Linked DNA regions of Homo sapiens: regions 2 and 3 are each linked to region 1. The links are contacts of gene promoters, found by promoter capture Hi-C in blood cells and fetal thymus (Javierre and others, 2016). All regions are on one chromosome and are shown on one strand. The core of a region is centred on a gene start or on the middle of the fragment in contact, and the rest is flanking DNA. Distances in the headings are between cores, read along the strand shown.

Region 1 (4,660 bases), core at 1,421-3,920:
CGTAAAATATATGAGCGAGCTGCCCAGTTGCATAAATACAACCAAGGCTGTGATCCTAACTATAGCTGGTCAACAATAAAAAGCACCCTCCTGAGTCTCACTTGGTTTTTGCCCTTCCTAGGACCTTTGATATTTATCTCATTATTAGTAATCTTTCGCCTTTGCTTGTTTAACTTAATGGTAAAGTTTGTGTCTTCTAGATTACAACAATTCCACATAAAGATTATTCTGGCAACCCATCCCGTCTTCTGACCTTGGAAATAAAGACATCCTGCCTCAGGCCCCTTAGATCAGGCATCCAGAGATTTTTACACCTCCAATACTAGGCAAAGCATAAGCCCATAGAATCATCAGTCAGGCTGGAGTTAGAACGTATATGACTATGTGATCGTAAACCCCAGACACAAAAACCACTTGCAAGTGGTCATGAGTCATCCTCACCCTGGGAAGCGAACAGAAACCATCACTGGAGGGGGACATACCCTCCACTCAGACCCCCAGCCTCTGGTTTACTAATGACAAATACAGATATGCCACAGATAACCAGAGGCACAGAAGTGATTAAGCCCCCAGGAGCAAAGGCAGAAGAAACAAAGTCTCCAAGTTAGACTCCCAAGGAATTCCCATATAGGAATGATTGGAGGCAAATGTAAACATACAGCCTTGAAAAGTCAGGAAAAAATCAGGTCACTTCCACTTCTACATGGGATGCAGTAGGTTGTGGCTGCTCAGAATGTGACAACCGGGCAAATCAATCCACAGAGTTAAAAGTCACATTTGAAAGGCCCTTGGACAGATGTGGAAGCACCAAGGCCTGCATGAACTGAAATTCCGCAGAGGGCGAGCCCTTCCCAGGGTACCCTTTGTCATTGCAGATACATTTGTCACTTTGGGCACCAGCTGAAAGCCAGGCTGGCTACAGACAGGGACTCCGGTAGGGAATGCAAACCAGAGTGCCGTCTTGGCTCACGGGGAACCAAAGTGGCCCAGAATCTCCAGGTACCTAAAGATCAAGACAGTTTTCCCATGGAAGAGCCTCCAAGTGCTGTGGTGGGAGGGACCCTGGGGAGTCAGAGAAGGCCAAGTAGAATCCCCCCCAGTGTGGCAGATCCCAGGAGACAGAGTGCCCCTAGAAGGAGCCTGCCACAGTCATACCACTGGTCTCCATCATAAGCCAGTGGCCCCGATGGAACAGGTGTGTGGGATGAGGTTCAAGGGGAAAGTCAAAGCCTAGAAAGGGAAACCCGTCCGAGCTGAGGATTCGGTGTGAAAGGTGAGCATACAAATTGGGTCACCCTTGTCACACCCAACTAAGGCAGAGTGCCAGGTAGGGAGACCATTCAGCACTCAGGATAGAAAACATTGCTCCAAGAATGTACTTCTCTGAGGCCTGACTGCTGAAACTGTCTGCGGTAACCTGAAACCAGTTTTATCTGATGGCTACTGAGACCACCTGCTGCAACTCTAAGCCTCGGTTCACCCACTGCCGTCACTGATTCACTCATCAACCAGAGCTTGCCAGCTCCCCAAAATCCTACTAGTGCCAATGAAACTCAGACAGCAATATGTACTATTTCTCTTCTTTATAAAAAAGAGACATAGTTCCTTTTTTTTTGAGACAGAGACTTGATTTGTCCTGCAGGTTGGAGCACAATGGCACGATCTCGGCTCACTACAACCTCCACCTCCTGGGATCAAGGGATTCTCCTGCCTCAGCCTCCTGAGTAGCTGGGACTACAGGCACACACCACCACACCCAGCTAATTTTTGTATTTTTAGTAGAGACGGGGTTTCACCATGTTGATCACTCTGGTCTTGAACTCCTGACCTCAAATGATCTGCCCGCCTCAGCCTCCCAAAATGCTGGGATTACAGGTGTAAGCCACCGCGAATTTAAAAAAGCCTTTTCTTTGTTCTTTGGACATACTGAAGGCCAGCCAGTCTGCCCCCGTGCCCCTAATTGCAGTTATTTCCTCCCAAATAAAACATTTCAATTTCAGAAATTCACCTATTTTATATGACTTCGACAAGAGCCAAGCCACACTGTGTAGGAGATGCTCGGGTGAAGCCAGCTGTCCCTGGCCACACACAGCTTGAAGGCAAAATGGCAGGAGCTCAAGCGAAAGCCAGGCAGGTCTCCCCCTGAAACCTCTGCACAGGTGGGCGCTGGCGGGGCTGAAGGGCAAGGGCACCGCTCAAGCTGGCTTTGGTCAGGGTTAGGGACAGGGCCGGCTCCAGAGGCGACGGGGTCGCACCCTGAGCGGAGGGGCTCCCGGGGTCCCCAGGGGTTATGGTGATGGCGGGACCCCCTAGAGGGAGGGTCCAGGAACGAGGCAGGTGGACTGGGACCTTGAGGGCAGGGTGGGCCTGGGCGGTGCCAACAGGCTGCCGAGGGTGGCTGCTGTCCCGTTTCTCCAGCAGCCAGGGCCGTGCGCTTCTAGAACATTCCCCGTGGCTTTCCTAAAGGGAGCGTGGATGGAGCCAGGGTGTGCAGATTTCTGTGAGAAATATTTTCACCTGGGAGCCCCAAGGGGGACCCTGCCCACCTTTGAACACTGGCAGATGGGCTGGAGGCCTGGAGCCTGGGGACGGGGCTTTGAGGGTCCGGAAGGAGGGCGGGGCTGTGCGGCCGGCGGAGGCCCCCGAAAGTTCCAGAAAGCGGGTGGGGAGGTCGGCGCGGGAGGCTCAGATGGCTGGAGGCGGCGGGCACGCACACTGCGGGGCTCCGAGGGGCACAGGTCAGTTTCCTGAGGCGGGTCGGGACCCAGGCGTGAGACTGGAGTCTGCCCAGGGGCCCAGCTGAGGCAGCCTCCTCGTCAGCTGCTTGGGCCGCCAGGACGCCGCCGGGGGTGCGCCGCGCTTCCCTGGATGGGGTGCCCCCACTCCCCTCGGAGCCCCAGGGAGACCCCCCGAACTCAGCTCCTCTCAGGGGTGCCAGGGGGACCCCTCAAAACTCCACTCCCCGCAGGTTCCTGGGGAGACGCCCCCTGCTCCATTCCCCTCAGGGTCCCAGGGAGACCCCCTAATTCAGCTCCTCTCAGGGGTACTGGGGGACCTCTCGAGCTCCACTCCCATCAGGGTCCCAGGGAGACCCCCCAACTATGCTCAGGGGTCCCAGGGAGATGCCAGCACCCCAACTCCGCTTCCCTGGGGCCCCCCTCCCCTTACAGCTCAACTTCCCTCGAGAGTCTGGGGCTGGGGCTCCGTTCAGTTCTTGAGTCCCCTTCCCTCGGGGTGTCCCGGGGCCGCCCACCCCCACACTGTCTGTGATTCCCCAAGGCGCGGGTCTCGGGCCGCAGCCTGTTCCACGTTCTGCTGCTCGTTCTTTTCTGGCTCCTTGCTTTCGAAGGAGAGAAGGAGGCCTTCGTTTCCAGTCTTTTTGCCTTTTCTAATGGAGCCCTGCTTTTCCTTCCGTGTCCCTTCAGGCTACTTCTGCCAGGTTTCTATTTTTCATTCTTTATTATGACTTTGCCCAAAATATTCTTGACTTCTATTGAGAAGGATTTGGGGGTCTATTTCTTATTTGGAGGTGTGTTCTTAAGTTCCAAACAGATGAGGATTTTCCAGTTAATCCTTCTGGGGTGACTTATTGCTTAATGCCACCATAGTCAGAAAATGGACTCTCAGTGTCCGAAACTGCATTCGGCTCTGAAGTGTCTGTCCTTGTCACCTCTTGCAATGTTTTTTGCCTGGAAGCCTGCACTCGCCGACGCTGACGTAACTGTTTCTGCCTTTCAGTTCTACAGCCTCCTTTGCTTTGTGATATTGTCATATACTTTATTTCTATATATGTTATGAACTCAATATTTCTTGTAGTGGGTCTGCTGATAATAAGATATTCCTACTCTTTTTGTCTGAAGCCATCTTAAGCTTACCCTGTATTTGCCCCATGCATCTCTTCCGTTTCACGGTTCCTGAGTTGTCACCTTTGTGATAAACTGGTAATAGTAAGTAAACTGTTTTCTTGTGCTCTGTAAGCTGTTCTAGCAAATTATCTAGGAGGAGGTGGTCTTGGAAACCCTTGATTTATAACTGGGCAGTCAGAAGTACACGTGGCCCAGACTTGTGATTGGCATCTGAAGTGGGGGCATTAGGGTGGGACTGAGCCCTTCACCTGTGGGGTCTGCCCTGCTCAAGGCAGTGTCAGAATTGAATTGAAATGTTGGACGGTCAGTGTCCAGAGAGTTGGAGAACTGGTTTGTGTGTAAAAACTCACATATTTAGGGTCAGAAGTATGGTGGTGTAGAAATAATTCATACTATAGTCCCTTATTTCTGCCTCTTACACATCCTGTTATTTTTAAAATTTTTTCATCTTTAAAAAATCAATTTAGTAATCTTTTTCTCTTTAATGCTCTCATTAGAATTTTTAAAGTACTTGTATGCTAATGTCAACATTTGAGTGAACTGTGGGTTTATTTCTATTGTTGTTTTATTGATTAGCAATAATTTATTCCTAATTCTTACATATCCTGTGATGTTTTTATTGAACATCTTGCGTTGCGTACAAAATAGCTGGAAAGCTTGGAGGTGGTTGTATGTTACTACTGGGGATGTGTGCCCTCTCCTCTCTCCAGGAGCCTGTGGGAAGGCCTGGACTACTGGCTTGCTCAAAGGTGGAGGCCAAGTGGGATGCTTGCAGCTTCAACCTGACCCTGGCT
Region 2 (4,660 bases), core at 1,150-3,649, 200 kb after region 1:
TTTTTTGTAGAGATGAGGTTTCACCATGTTGGCCAGGCTGGTCTCAAACTCCTGACCTAAAATTATCCACCTGCCTCAACCTCCCAAAGTGCTGGAATTACAGGTGTGAGCCACCACGCCCAGCCTTAAAAATGTGGATAATTCTTGTGGGAGACCAGTCAAGAAAAGAAGAGGAGAAAAACAGCCATAATAGCAATGGGGAAAAAATCAGGATCAACAGAGTCTTCAGCCGGGCGCAGTGGCTCACACCTGTAATCCCAACACTTTGGGAAGCCGAGGCAGGTGGATCCCTTGAGCCCAAGGGAGAAATAGCGAAGGGGGACACGTCACACTTTCAAACCATCAGATCTCCTGAGAACTCACTCACTATCACCAGAACAGCAAGGGGGAGGTCTGACCCCACGATCCAATCACCTCCCACGTGGCCCCTCCGCCAATTCCACATGAGATCTGGGCGGGGACACAAATCCAAACCATCTCATCCTGTAACTTCTTTCTCCCTAAAGGGTATAAAATCGAGCTGTACCCCGGCCACCTTGGGCACATGTTCCCCGAACCTCCTGAGTCTCTGTCATGTGAGGTCATGGTCCTCACATTTGGCTCAGAATAAACCTCTTCAAATATTTTAGAGTTTGGCTTTCTTTCATCAACACATCCCATCCTGTAAAACGCAGAGTAAGCCGGAGAGAATGGCTCACACCTGTAATCTCAACACTTTGGGAGACCAAGATGGGAGGATCATTTGAGGCCAGGAGTTCAAGAGACCAGCTTGGCCAACAAAGCAAGACCTCATCTCTAAAAAAAAAATAAGTAAATAAAAACAAATGTGAGTGACTTCACTCTTCTCTCCCAGAGCCTCCAGTTGTCACTTTTCTGAGTTTCTTCAGGGTCTCTTGAACTGTACTCAGGGTGTCAAGAGGTACAGTTGGGAAGGATGGGGGCCTCTAATGAGGGGGTTAAGAGCATCATTCTGGAGGAGACATGAGGGAGGCAGCAGAGAGGGGCTGTGGTGTGGCCTTCACACACTGCAACTCCTGGAGGTCGGGCAGGGGCAGGATGTCCAGACAGTGGACGCATGAGTGGGGAAGCCTTCAGCCACCCTGACTCCACCTAGGAGGTGCCCCAAGGCAGAACCAGCAGCTGAGCCTGGCCAGCCCCGGCAGCGATGAGAGACAGTAGGTTTTGGGGTGACCAACAGGGAGCCCCAGCAGGAGCCCAGCAGGAGAGAGAAGCTGGATATTGATCCTGCTGGCCCCTCCTGCAGTCCGCAGGACTGTCCACAGCCCTCGCTCCTCTTAAGCAGCTCACCTGCCTTGGTGGCCCCTCCCCTCCTGGCCCCTCCTTTTGGGCCTGGGTTGGGGGTGGCAGGGGTCCTGTCCCTGCACCCGGAGTGGAGTGGGATATGGCACTGGAATGTTTCTAGGCAGCCCACTCCTGTAAGAGGGCCTGGGGCTGGGCCCAGTAGTTCACACCTGTAATCGCAGCACTTTGGGAGGCTGAGGCAGGAGGATCGCTTGAGCCTCGGAGTTCGAGAGCAGCCTGGGCAACATAGAGACCCCACTTCTACTTGAGAGACACACAGAGAGAGAGAGAGGGAGGGAGGGAGAGAGGGAGGGAGGGAGAGAGAGAGGGAGGGAGGGAGAGAGAGAGGGAGAGAGGGAGGGAGGGAGAGAGAGAGAGAGAGAGAGAGAGAGAGAGAGAGAGAGAGAGAGAGAGAGAGAGAGAGAGAGAGAGAGAGAGAGAGAGGGAGAGAGAGAGAGAGGGAGGGAGGGAGGGAGGGAGAGAGAGAGGCTTCTGGTAAATGCTCCTATTTTGCAAACTCTCTTCCTATTTTGTGATTAGGATGCTCCATCAGTTTCTGCCACCAGCTTGCTGGAGACGCTGCGTGTCCCTGACTCCTCTCAAAGGGTGAAAAGCTCAGTCGCACCCGAGACCTGCTCCTCAGGCAGAGGATGAACTGAGTCCCCGCCCCACCGCCCGTCTGGCCTCTGTGAGAGTGGCGTGCAGGCTGACCCTGGAAGCAGAGGGACATTCGAACGGGCCGGCGGCCTTCTCCCCGCTAGGCTGGGCTCCGGGGTGGGCGGAGAGTGGCCGCCACAGGCCATCAGCGTCCGGGGTTCTGGAAGCAGGGAGGGCAGAGGCTGGCCCAGCCTATGGGAGACCCTGCAGAGGCGTGGCCTCCAGGCTAATCCTACCCCAGCTGCCCCAGGGCGGGATTTCTTTTCTTTTTTCCTTTAATCTCTTTATCTACAGGCGCCGAGGCTTAATGAGCTCCAGATGTCTCAACATACCAGGAGAGGTTTAGGATCCCCTGCCAAATACAAGGGAGATAAGAACGCACCAGACTTGCACAAACCAGAGCTGGTGACCCCCAGTTCCCTTTAAATCAGCGACATGTCATTACAAGGCGGAAGTCCTGCCCGAGAGGACAGTCCCCAGGCCTTGCTAAGCATGCGTGGTATCAAGAGGTGCATTGAGGCGCTCCTGCAGCCTCCTCCCGGCACGGGACTCCTCACAACCCCCAGCCTCAGCTTCCCTGACAGGGCAGGGGCTCACTCTTCTCCACTCCGGGCCAGGAACGCAGCCTGCTTGCCTTTTGTCCAATTGGGTGCTCTTTCTTTGCGACTGATACAAAGTGGGAACAAACTCCGCTTCCGGTGATGCCCGGGCCCCAGGAGGCTGGGGGAGAAGTGCACGCTGCCCAGCCTTCAACCTGAACTGCCCCCAGCACTTCCGAGCCCCGACCCCTGCAGCTGTGAGGTGAGGTGGGGAGGGGGCGGCCTGCGGGGAGGGGGCTGCCTGCGGGGAGGGGGCTGCCTGCAGGGCGGGCCGTGTGGGTCCCCCGAGCGTGGGGGACCAGTGACGTCAGGCAACATTTCTCCAAAGGCTCCCTCACCTTGTCCTTTGGCATCTGGGGTGCTCAGAGGAAGGGGGAAGCCGGGAGGGTGTGGAGAGGGTCACTGGAGAGGGGAAAGGCCAGAGTGATCCCCTTGGGGACGAGGCAGAGGAAAAGCTGTGGAGACCTAAAGAGAAGAGGTGGGGTGCGCCTGGGCCTCTCAAGTTTGTTTCCCAGAACCAGGGAAGGTTACAGTGGAAGGGAGGACCCTGTGGGGAAGAAGCTTCCAGAGACCTTCTGGAGAGGTGAGCCAAAGGCGAGCCATGGCCAGAAACCCCAGGCCTGCTGCAGTGGAGAGTCAGTGCTGCAGGAGGCTTGGGAATCAGGGCTGCCCTCCTTGGGCTGAACCCTCTATCTAGGGGACAATGGCCCTGGGCAAAAGCACTGCTTTCTGGGCCCCCTGGAGGGTAGGGCATGACACTGTGGTGCTAGAGGCAGGGGGGACATGAGGAGGTAGACGAATGTCCTGAGTCACCAGGTACAACCACTGCACCCCATTGTGACTGCCCCTGTGTCCGACACAGATTTGGGGGGTCTGGAATGTCCCTTGAGCTCCTTAGGCACTCATGAATTTCTAGTTGAGCAAATAAAATGTCCAAGATGCCCAGTTTGATCTGAATCTCAGATAAACAACAAATAGTCATTTTTACCAATGTTTGGGACATACTTATGCTAAAAATTGTTTATCTGAAATTCATATTTAATTGGGCATCTTACCCCATTGACCCTAATTAGCAAATCACATCCAGGAGTACAGGGCATGGCTGGGTGGTGGCTGTCACACTGTGCAGTCAGAGGGACCAGGACGTCTTGGATGCAGGCGTCTGGCCAGCGTGGAAGGCCAGGACCTGGTCACGAGATGTGGCTCCCGGCATGGCAGGTCAAAGACTGCTGGTCGTCTGAGCCCAGCCCTGACTCCAGGCTGAGATGGCCATTCACCCAGACCTTGAGCCCTGCCCTGACTCCAGGCTGAGACGGCCGTCCACCCAGACCATTCTGAGCCCTGCCCTGACCCCAGGCTGAGATGGTCATCTATCGGGGGAAATTCACCCCCGATATTTCATGTAGGTTCTTTTCTATTTTCCCTAAGTGTCGGCCAGTCTGAGAAATAAAGGGACAGAGTACAAAAGAGAGAAATTTCAAAGCTGGGCGTCCGGGGGAGACATCACATGTCGGCAGGTTCCGTGATGCCCCCTGAGCCGTAAAACCAGCAAATTTTTATTAGTGATTTTCAGAAGGGGAGGGAGTGTACAAATAGGATGTGGGTCACAGAGATCACATGCTTCACAAGGTAATAAGATATCACAAGGCAAACGGAGGCAGGGCGAGATCACAGGACCACGGGACCGGGGCGAAATTAAAATTGCTAATGAAGTTTTGGGCACACATTGTCATTGATAACATCTTATCAGGAGACAGGGTTTGAGAGCAGACAACCAGTCTGACCAAAATTTATTAGGCGGGAATTTCCTCATCCTAATAAGCCTGGGAGCACTGCGGGAGACTGGGGCTTATTTCATCCCTTATCTACAACTGTAAAAGGCAGCCGTCCCCAAAGCAGACATTTCAGAGGCCTCCCCTTAGGGATACATTCTCTTTCTCAGGGATGTTCCTTGCTGAGAAAAAGAATTCAGCGATATTTCTCCTATTTGCTTTTGAAAGAAGAGAAATATGGCTCTGTTTCACCTGGCTCACAGGCAACCAGAGTTTAAGGTGATCTCTCTTGTTCCCTGAACGTTGCTGTTACCCTGTTCTTTTTTCAAG
Region 3 (4,660 bases), core at 1,379-3,878, 160 kb after region 1:
CAGGCGGGCATTCTTCCCAACCCCAGGAAACTCCAAAGAGCAGATTTGCCTTCTAGAGGAAAGGAACCCCAAGACTCCAGTTGGGGAGACTTGCTGGGCAGGCCTGGGGCCCCTGAGCAGGCCCAAGGCAGGGAGCAGCTAAGGCCTCCAAGAACAAAGCAGTGACCCTGGGCGCTCCCTGAGCAACTGGAAGCACCGGGTGTTCTGACAGCCCCCAGGAGCTGAGGAGAGGGGCAGGGCCCCAGGCCGACCATAGCCTCCACATTCATAGCACTCTTTGCTGGCCCAACCTTCCAAGATGTTTATCTTTCCATAAACAAGAAAAGAACACCTCAACTGCAACTTTAGCCTGCAACACCCGGTCCCCAAAGCTAGTCTGTTAGAATGCACACCGACAAGCTGGATTCCAAGCGGACCTTCCCAGGTGCAGAACAAAGGCCAGGTGAGATTCCTCTGCCTACCTGAGACCAGAGGTCAGCAGGATTAACTCTTCCTTTGCCTCCCCTCATCCCCAGCAATGTTTGCCCACGGATTACTGTTGGGCACTCGTTAATGAAACCAATTTGCCTAAACGCCTGCCCCCTCTTCCTGCGCTCCTTCTCCCGGTTAAAGAAACGTGTTTATACTGAGCCCCCTACAGACCTCCTCAGAGGACACGGGCCACAGAAGCTTCTGGGCCCACATTTTTCCCGACCATGCCCTCAAGCTGTGGCTCAACAAGCTTCAGCTGATGGAGACCCCTGCTTCAGTCTCCCAGGTTGGCCCTGGGTAAAGGATGAGAAACCCCATCAGACGTGAGAGGGATCAGACATCGAGGCTGCAGGTTTTGGGCTAAACTGACTTAGCAGGATTCTTGCTAAAATTGAATCGTAGAGGAAAGGCACAGATGGGCCTGGGGGAAGGTTCAGAAGCTTGATTACAGATTGGCCAAGCAAACCATCCTCATCAGGTGCTGGGGGTCAGCACTGTGGGGAGAGCAGCCACAGGAAGCCTGCAGGGTCTTCCCAAGGCCAGAGCGGACCCGGAGGAGCCACCCTGAGCCATAGCAGAGCCCAGCTGGCGTGGGTGGGGGCAGGGAAAAGGGAACTGCAGGGATTCTGTGTCCCTGCAAGCAGGAAGGAAGGGGCTGGGGCTGTACTGAACCTGCATCAACAGAGGCCAGCTCCTGCTTCAAATGCAGGGTCCTCTCCCCCTCCAATTGGCTGTGTGCCCAATGGTGTCTGGGAAGCAGGCTGCCACTCACCCTGCTGGGAGTGAGAAAAGAAAAGAACTATTATCTGAGAAATGTGAGTCTTTTTCTATTATCAGGCCCAGAGAGATACTGACATGAGACAGCAGGTGCTTCCTTCTACTACCTTGAGCTATGGACTCATCTCCGGTGGTTGCCATTGCCAGCAGCTATGAATTCACCTGATAATGCCACACTGGAAACGAAAACCCACACCCTGGAGCTTAACCATGTCCAGCCAATCACCCAGCAATGTCACTTCTGTGAACCAATCAGAATTCCTGACAAACAACGTTATATCAGCCACACTCTGCCCCCTTTTTGCCTTTAAAAATTCACTTGTATGGCTGGTCGCCATGGCTCACGCCTGTAATCCCAGCACTTTGAGAGGCCAAGGCGTGCAGATCACCTGAGGTTAGGAGTTCGAAACCAGCCTGGCCAACATGGTGAAACCCCATCTCTACTAAAAGTACAAAAATTAGCCAGGCATGGTGGCAGGTGCCTGTAATCCCAGCTACTTGGGAGCCTGAGGTAGGAGAATCACTTGAACCCAGGAGGTGGAGGTTGCAGTGAGCCAAGATCACACCATTGCACTCCAGCCTGGGTGACTAAGCAAGACTCCGTCTCAAAAAAAAAAAAAAAAATCATTTGTAGCTGGGCTCAGTGGCTCACGCCTGTGATCCCAGCACTTTGGGAGGCCAAGGCAGGCAGATCACCTGAGGTCAGGAGTTCAAGACCAGCCTGGCTAACATGGTGAAACCCCGTGTTGACATTTTTGTAGAAATCTCTACAAAAATACAAAAATTAGCTGGGTGTGGTGGCACACACCTGTAATCCCAGCTACTCAGGAGGCTGAGATGGGAGAATCGCTTGAACCCAGGAGGCAGAGGTTGCAGTGAGCCAAGATCGCGCCACTGCCCTCCAGCCTGGGCAACAGAGCAAGACTTGTCTAAAAAAAAAAAAAAAGACTTGGAATCCATAGAAAGGAATGTCTGGGTTAAGATAAGGGATTGCGACACCAAGATTCTTCTCATTCAGGTAAAGCCTCCAGATAGCAGGCTTCAGGGAGAATGGAATGTAAATGTTTCTTATCAGATCTAAAAGGGTGTCAGTCCCTTAGCTGATTCTCTCCTGGGTCAGGAAAAAGGCCTCAGAAGAAGGGGATTCTCTACAGACTGTAGATGTTTCTCCCACAAGAGACAACTTTGCACGGCTACTTCAAGATATGGCAAATAAACGTATATGCATTTAAAATACCTCATTTCCTTCCTTGTCCGTCATGTGATGCTACACCACAGTCAGGCTGGAAAGGCAGCCGTGTTATGTGGGGTTAAATAAAACCCATTTGAGAGACTCTACGGTCTGTAGGGCACACTCCCCAGGCCTCTTAGGTAGGAATTTGGGCAAAAGAAGAAAAAAGGGCCAGAGTTTAGTCCTCAGAACGCTGACGTGGAACCCCCTGCCCTCAGCCAGCTAGCCTGCCCTGCCCTGTTCAAGCACCATGGGGCCAGGAGTGCCTGAGGGTGGAGGCAACTGGAGGCAGCTGGAGGCAACTGGAGGCAGCTGGAGGCAGGCCCTGGAGTGGTGGGCAGCCCTCCCAGCCTCCTAACCCATGCTCAGACAGGTGACCACTGGCAGGCCCAGCTCCAGGCTAGCCCCAGGGACAGGGAGACCAGTCCCCCTCAGTGGGAGTCTGAGAGGGTGACTCTAAGATTCCCCACCAACACCAACCACTGACTGGTGTGGAGGAAGCCCAGGGTGTGGGACCCTAGCACGGTAGGAGGTGGCCGTCAGGACCAGGAGTGTGAGGCTGGTGGGAAGAAAGGACCTTTTGCCAAATAGGAGGTGGTGTCTTCTTTAGGTATGTCAGGGTGGGAGGCTCCCACTCCATGTCTCATTGACCATCAACAACGGTAGCCCCAGATCCCCAGTGCCCAGCCAGCCTCTCTGGGACCTCTCTGTGCAGGTAAGACTTTGTAAACACTGAAGGGGCTCTTCCTGCCTGCTGCATAAAGAAAGACCATGGCATTGCAATAAGGAAAGAGTTTAATAGACAAAAGGCTGGCCACGCTACAGAGATGGAGTTAGCACTCAAACAACCTCATGCAAAACTCACAGGTTAGGGGTTGTTCAAAGACAGTTTTAGGGGAAGGAGTTGGGGAGGCCAGGTAATAGGTGCTTGCTGCTGATTGCTTAGAGCAGAGATGAAATCACAGGGGGTCAACGCTGAGTCCTAAGGACTGAGTCACTTCTGGGTGGGGTCACACGAGTGGGATTGGCAGGTCCAGGTGGGTCCAGGTGGAGCCACGGTCATGCACAAACACTGGAAAAGATTTCTCAAAAAGCCAATCTACAATAGTGGTGTTATCTGCAGGAATAACTGGGGAAGTTGCAGATCTTATAACCTCAGAAAAAAATGGCTGACAACCCTTTCTGTCTGTGCCTTACCAGGACTCAGGCAAGCTCCACCTCCTGGGTTCAAGCAATTCTCATGCCTCAGCCTCCTGGGTAGCTAGGATTACAGACACATGCCACCACACCTGGCTAATTTTTATATTTTTTGGTAGAGATGGTGTTTCACCACCATGTTGGCCAGGCTGGTCTCAAACTCCTGACCTCAAGCGATCTGCCTGCCTTGGCCTCCCAGTGTGCTGGGATTACAGCTGTGAGCCACCATGCCCAGCCCAGTACCTGTTTTTACTGAAGACAAATCATAGTAGGACAAATTTATTTAAAATAATTTTTCATCTTATACTTGGCCTGAGTGTTTGCATAATGTCAGCACGAATAATTATTTGCCATATAGGCCTGTCTTAAAATTGGCTTTGCTGGAACTTTATTCTATAACGAATCCCAGATTTGACTTTTTTTAAAGCCTTGAGCCCAGCCATGATTTATTGGTGCCTGAAAATACCTATATAAATTGGGCAATGTCCTCTCCTCAAGGTCCCAGGATAATTTGGGGCTCCTGAGCCTGTCAGAAAGTGACATTCTTTACATACTACAGGCAAGGAACTCTGTACAGTGACTGTGTAGACAAGGGATGAGGCCAACTTCATAAGTCAGCTTTGACTCCTTAAAGCAGTCTGTTTGTATCCAAAAGTACATCCTTCCGGTCAAAGCTTTGGTAAAATAACCAGTGTCTCCAATTATGTCCTGTTACAAAAGAAAATACATTCTTATTGAACTTATGCAAATAACTATACTGCCGTAAATTAAGTATACTTGCAAATAGTTTTCAAATTTCTACAGAAATCAGGTAGACAGAAATGTACTTCAGAGTTTACTCACAGGAGGGTACTTTACCCAGTTGTGAAAAGCTGTAGAGTGCTGCTAATGCCCCAGTGAAGAAGCTGAGGTCAACATCAGATTTGAAATATTTAAAGTGGATACAAACTTATTTCAGCAATGCAGACAATTAAGTGTGTTTTT

The links. The method cuts DNA at HindIII sites, captures the fragments that hold promoters and counts their contacts. A CHiCAGO score of 5 or more calls a contact.
Region 2: a contact is called between the fragment with the promoter of LY6S-AS1 here and the fragment with the promoter of GML in region 1, in 2 of 17 cell types (naive CD4 T cells and total CD8 T cells). The highest score is 6.9, in naive CD4 T cells.
Region 3: a contact is called between a fragment that was not itself captured here and the fragment with the promoter of GML in region 1, in 1 of 17 cell types (naive CD8 T cells). The highest score is 5.1, in naive CD8 T cells.

What each region holds. Positions count from the first base shown.
Region 1 is chr8:142,832,131-142,836,790 of GRCh38, forward strand. It overlaps GML (glycosylphosphatidylinositol anchored molecule like), which reads left to right and starts at 2,671. Exons shown (of 4, transcript NM_002066.3): 1 at 2,671-2,738. The HindIII fragment of the contact is 21,811 bases long and covers 1-3,868 here.
Region 2 is chr8:143,036,810-143,041,469 of GRCh38, forward strand. It overlaps LY6S-AS1 (LY6S antisense RNA 1), which reads left to right and starts at 2,400. Exons shown (of 6, transcript NR_149322.1): 1 at 2,400-2,760. LY6S (lymphocyte antigen 6 family member S) reads right to left here. Exons shown (of 4, transcript NM_001406478.1): 4 at 4,030-4,660. RefSeq lists enhancers at 2,072-2,623, 4,645-4,660. The HindIII fragment of the contact is 8,465 bases long and covers 1-3,117 here.
Region 3 is chr8:142,991,274-142,995,933 of GRCh38, forward strand. All of the region lies in intron 1 of LY6E-DT (LY6E divergent transcript), which reads right to left. It also overlaps the pseudogene CDC42P3. Among named protein-coding and RNA genes, the nearest start is that of LY6E-DT, 25 kb to the right of the region's middle. RefSeq lists an enhancer at 1,030-1,537. The HindIII fragment of the contact is 3,439 bases long and covers 910-4,348 here.